Linked DNA regions of Homo sapiens: region 2 is linked to region 1. Evidence: promoter capture Hi-C in 16 types of primary human blood cells and fetal thymus (Javierre and others, 2016). All regions are on one chromosome and are shown on one strand. Each heading gives the region's core, a stretch centred on a gene start or on the middle of the fragment in contact. The rest is flanking DNA. Distances are from core to core; before and after follow the strand shown.

Region 1 (3,084 bases), core at 197-2,696:
ATTATCAATATTTTCATAAAATGTGAGTATAAAATAGAACATAGTATTATTAAACCATATTAACATTTCATTGGCAGAGATTTCACTTTGTTAAAGGCTGTATAAGAACAGCTTAATCTCATAACCCAGAAGTTTTTACTGTTATTATTGCCTCTTTATTTTTGGCTAAAGTGTAATTTTTAAATGAGTATACAGAAACCTAATACTATATATTGAATGACTTTAAGTAAATAAATATCCATGCTATTCATCAGGATAAGTGACCTAGTGACCAGAATAAAAAGGATATATGTTGGTAGCCCCTAGCACAGTATGCCTCAGCACAGAGGTTTCTTGGGTTACTGCTAGTGAATGATTCCAATTCTTGGCCGTCTGATCCCACACATTACATAAATTCCAACTCCTGCATCTGTTTAGGTGAGCTGTTGGCTAAATGGATATGTAATGAAATTAAACAATATTTTTAAGGTGCTTTTTAGGATGGGTTATACCCCCTCTTTTTCTCCTCCTTTCCTTGCAACCTGCCCTCTACTCATTCTTTTTATGCATATTTTTGAGAGCCTGAATATGCTAGGAAGAGGGTTTCAGTCTGTTAAGAATTCACAACCTTGTGGAGTTGAGATACAATTAATAAAATTTCTAGTATAATGAGGTAAGTATTATGATACCATGAAAGCACAGAGGAGAAACACCTACTCTGTTTTGTAAGGATTAGGGAAAGCAATTTAGAGATTATACCTAACACAAACACACAGATATTTGCATAGTATGTGAGCACACGTTTAAAAAAATGTAATTTTCACCCTAGAAATAAGACAGTAGTGATTCAGCGTGAGTTGATATGCCTGTCTCCACTATAATGAAAGAAATATAACGTCTTAAGTATGGGTTGACATTTGCAAACTAACTGATTTTTCTAGAAGAATGATGCCACATAATTTAAAAATATTAATGCTTTTCTAATCTCTAGTGTATTTTCAATGGCTAACATAGTTAAAACCAAAGTGAAATTTTTATTATGTACATAATCGAATGCAAATTGTGTCAGGCTAGTTTAAAAAATATGAATGTCAGTCCTGGCTTGGCAATTTAATAACTATTTGGTTTTTGACCAAGTCATTTAACTTAATTAAACCTCAGTTTCTTCTCTGTAAACAAGAGAAGGTCAAGCAAGATAGTTTTAAAATTTCTTTCCAAATTTATACGTCTGACTTTTCTAAAAAATCTGGTTTACACTAATACTTAAAAGAAATTATCTTAAAACAATAAATTATAAATTTATTTTTTGCTCTTGCTCCCTGTAAAATTTGTCCTTGTCCTGCTAGTCACATATAGTCCCCACTACACCAGCCAAGACTTGTCAGACTGGTTCTGTTGAGATCATCAGTGACTTATTTCCTCACTTCAATTCAGCCCACAAAGTCATTGATAGAGCTGGATTCACACACTTGGATGTAGACCTCGACCTTCACAGGACTCTTCATTGCTGGTTGGCAATGATGTATCGGTGAGTTAGTTCCCTTTTTCTTTCTAGAAGTCTTAAGGTAACTTTTAGTTTAAAACAGTATGAGCCACACCAAGGAATGTGTAGATCTACAGTTTATTATTTTTTTAAATATAGAAACATATTTTTGAGATTTTACATAAAATTATGTCAAGAAAAAGATTTCTATTCTTTCTGTATTAGTGTTTCCTGTCCTCTTTTGTTGTATCCCATGTGTTTTTCTGTTTACTTTTAGAAGGTTTCTACACAATGTAAAGGTACATGGTGTTTGACAGCTGTCTTTTAGTTAGTTTGGCCATATGTTTCAAGAAAGATATAACATATTTTTAGCTTGGGCTTTGTTTGTCTTATTGAGAAACACTTTTATTTTAGAAGGTGTACATGAAAAAAAGTCTGAAATAATGCAGAAAAAAATGTTTATTTCTGTAAGTAGTTAAAAATTTAAAAACTCTAGATGTTTTGAAAGAATCAGAAACAACTGAAGAAAATAATATGACTAAATTATTATAGCCTGATTTAAAAAATAAATCCACTGATATGCCTGGCCATAGTCAACTTCTCCAAAGATAAGTCATGATCATTTTGAGGTTTTCTTTCAAAGTTAGAAACTAATCAGTAACAAGGTTTTGGGGTACTAGTTTTGTCTTTGAAAATAATTTTATCTCCTGATTAAAATTTATTTTCTCTGATTCTCATATTGGCATATCATTTTTTATTAGTTTTTACTTTGAGAACAGTTTGAAAATGTTAAACTTTGAATGAAATCTGTGGTCTTCATTTAACATGGAAAAACAGGTTCTGTCATCAGTTGAAAGTTCTACATACTTGTTATTAGAAGTTTAATACTCTTCTGTACATATCCATGAAGCAACTAAAAGCTACGGATACTAAACATTTTGTTGGGCTTATCAAGGCTCCCTGCCTTTTGCAAGTATTTCTTTACAACCAATGATGGTTTTGTATCCTATTCTCTTTTTCTCATTGACTTTACTATAGAAAACAGTGCTTCAAGAAAGCTTCCAATAAACTTAACATACTAAATAGATTACAAGCCTTATCTATGGTATATGTCAGAGATTTGGAATTTGGTTATAAATGTGTAGAGGCGGTATAATGTGGGAATACTGGAGTGAATTTTTCTGAGTGTAGTCTCTAATTTGAAGCAAAAGATGTGACTATTTTTAAAAATCCTGCTGCAGAATAGATGCAAATAATCTCTCATGGAAAAAACCAAAAACCAAAACCAACCATCTAACAAACAAAAACGTCTTCCTGATCTGAAGATTGTATGAAAGATGAAGCACATCTATGTTTGAGTGGGTCTAGATGAGATAAAATGTTAAGAGCATGTACTAGAGCAAAAAAGGATTAAGTTTATTATTCACATTTGCTGTCGTAAATGTGCCAACAGGAGTGTTATCGAGGAAGAGGGATAATTGAAATCCTAGGATATAAGTAGACAATTTCTTCTTAAGGTCATTGGTTTTAACTCAGAAAGAATACAAGAAACAGGTGGGGAATTTTATTAAATAGCATGCTCCTTCCTTTTCAGTCAGATTTCGGATAGCCTTCTCCCTGAC
Region 2 (3,084 bases), core at 418-2,917, 1.0 Mb after region 1:
TTGTTATTGTGCTAGTGTAGTTAGCCATCAATATAACTCCTTTCTGATAATATTTGTAGTGTATAGAGTGCTCTCAGGATTCCTGTAAGCAAAGCGATCAAATGACAGGGCAGAATTTGGTGATATCTGTTACCTGCCTCAAATACCATAATACCAGAATGCCACACTGCGCTTCTTCATTATATATCCTTTCTGATCATAATGGTCATGCCAAAGTACTGTTCATCAAAAAAACTCTTACCATTTTATTATCTGTCATATACATTGTTTTTAAACTGACATCTGAGGTGAATTCAAATTATCTGAAAAGCTAACTTGTCAGGCAGGAAATTTTTATCCTTTAACCCTTTACAGAGTTTAAAGCTCTTTTCAGTAGTTTTCCATCACTCAGGCAATTTATCTAACCTTTGGAGAGAAGTGCACAAAGGCTGTTGCAATCACATTGACCCTTTCCTCTGTGATGTTACTGACCATTGACCCCAGAGACAACGATGCAATGCTATTTTCTCCAGATCTCTGGGAAAGTTTTCATTTCCTATGAAGAAATAATTTGCTCTGTCACAAAAGAGCAATAACACAGCCAACATTATTGGAAGAATTGCTACAAGAAACTAAGTAGAAAAAATCAAGTATCAGCCAGAATTGTTAGCGGAGTGGCTATGGTAAAACATGCATGAAACTTTCCATCATAACCACTTCTAAGTACACAGAGAATGCTAGATATATTCACAATGCTATGCAATCAATCTTCGGAATTTTTTTCTTCTAAAATGAAAACTCTATACCTAATATACAACAACTTTCCATTTTATGCTCTCCTTTTTACCTACTAATCACTTTCTTTTTCTATGAATTTCACAGTTTAAATACCTTATATGAGTGGATTACAGTGTTTGTCTTTTTTGATTTATTCACTTAGTCTAATGACATCAAGCTTCATCTACATTGTAGCATGTGTCACAATTCCTTTTTTTAAGGCTGAGTAAAATTTTATTTCGTGTATATAACATATAGCAGTTACAGTTGTTATATATTTGTTCCTTGATAGACATTTGGATTGTTTCCAGCTCTTAGCTTTTGTAATAGTGCTGTTATGGACATAGATGTGCAAATATCTCTTTGAGATCCTGATTTTCATTCTTATTAATACAATTCAGAAGTGGAATTTCTGTATCACATGTTAATTCTATCTTTAACATTTTTTGAGAAACCTCCATACTGACTTCTAGTAGTGCCAGTTTTTTAAATACGACATCGCTCAGTTCCTTTGGAAAGACTTATGTTATACAACATCAATTTTCTCTATTATTAATCTGTAGTTATGTAAGTGTGTGCATGTGCGTGTGTGTGTGTATGTATTTGATTAAGTATGTAAAGTAAGAAATAAATTAGTATCTTTACACAGTAGTGAGGGAAAGATACAGTTAAAAATATGGGAACCAAGCTCTTGTAATCACTAATATAGATTCTTAGGAAGACTACCACTGTTTACTTCTCTTTAATTTTATATTGTTATTGTTCTCCTAAGTAACTTGTTTTTATTTCAGGGAGGTTTTCTAAATCATTACTTTAATGTAGTCATTATAATTTCATTTCCTTGATTATGCTACTAAGGAAAAGTCACTTATGATTGGGAAGATATTATATATTTCTCTCAACTGTATAATTATTTCTAACCTATCTTAAAATTTGTCAGAATTTCCCAAACCTTCCTTCTAAATCACTCCTTCATCACATAAGGTAAGAATTGCTGACATCCCGAAGCCTGGTGCATGGTTTTGACTGGTGTATGGTTTTGAATTTCTGTGAACTCATCCTCAAAATCCTACTGATAATCCATAAGTAAACATGTATAGTTACATATTTCTGGGTTTGTTTATGGGTGACACCTGTTACTCTGATATCTTACTGTAAAATTGGCACCCTCATGGAATGTGTTATGTACAACTGGCTTCGAGGGACTCTCATCATCACCTCACCATGTCCTATGCGGAGGATGCACATGCACACTTCAGTGGGAGAGGTCCACCAGGCTTTTCTCCAGAAAAGATCCGGTCACTCTCTTGAGCAGCTCACTTCACGCTTCAGAAAACTCCTGCTAAAGACTTGTTTTCCTGGATTTGTTTGAGAATTATTCTTACTTGTGATCCCTTCTACTTACGAGTTTTAAAATTCAATTTCTTTCTGTAAACGAGTAATTCCCATGTTACTTGATGTACTTTCCCACCAAAAAAGAAATATGGAGAAGCCAAAGTTTCCTTGTTCTCCTGTCAAAACTGTATACTCACTTTTTTGTTATTCCTTGTGTTTTACATTCACCATTTAACTTTACTTTCTGTAAAATAATGATCAAACCCTTTGAACATAAAAAGTGTACTTTCTGATATAAATCATGGATGTAAAGCTTACTTTAAAAACAATTTTTCAAAGGAAAAAGATAAAAGGAAAAACCATTCAGCCTTTCACTGTGCCAAATATGTATTGTCCAGAGCATTCTTCAAAAGTGTGACTTTAACCTTATGACATTAGTTTCAAAATGAAGGTCACTATACTAATTATATCAACCACATAAAACAAGTATTCTGTATGATTCCAGTTACTTGTGGCAACATATAAAGTAACCTGTGTTCAACGTTTCATCTCAATGGTTTCCTGCCTAAAACCTTTTAGGGGTGGAACTTACAGTGTTGCAGTATGTCATCTCTGTTTGAAGGTTAATAACTAACATGGAAAGTTCATTCTCTTTCTGTGATATCCTTATGAAAATTATGCAAGCGTGTTGTAAGAAAATTGAAAGAGAATGAAAAAGTAAGAGTCACTCCATACACAGATACCCTGTTTAACACTTTATGCTTTTATTCTAGTCTTTATTCCTATAACTAAATGTATATTATTTTGTATACATTTAGAAAATTGTAACCCACCATATATTTCTTGTATTATTCTACAAGAACAAGGTGATCTTATATTTATTTTCTTTGCTGCTCTGTTTCCAATTAAACATCGATAATGGCTGTTTTAGTGTTATCAAAGATACTTTGATAAAACAATTGTAATATTGTGATATGTATATGCTATTTATTA

What was found. Contacts are between HindIII fragments. The CHiCAGO score rates a contact against its expected background, and 5 or more counts as called.
Region 2: a fragment that was not itself captured here is called in contact with the fragment with the promoter of TMPRSS11E in region 1 in 1 of 17 cell types (erythroblasts); the score reaches 5.4 in erythroblasts.

The regions. Positions count from the first base shown.
Region 1 is chr4:68,446,017-68,449,100 of GRCh38, forward strand. It overlaps TMPRSS11E (transmembrane serine protease 11E), which reads left to right and starts at 1,447. Exons shown (of 10, transcript NM_014058.4): 1 at 1,447-1,507. The coding sequence starts at 1,497. The HindIII fragment of the contact is 3,931 bases long and covers 1-2,518 here.
Region 2 is chr4:69,458,178-69,461,261 of GRCh38, forward strand. No RefSeq gene overlaps it. Among named protein-coding and RNA genes, the nearest start is that of UGT2B4, 36 kb to the right of the region's middle. The HindIII fragment of the contact is 1,470 bases long and covers 933-2,402 here.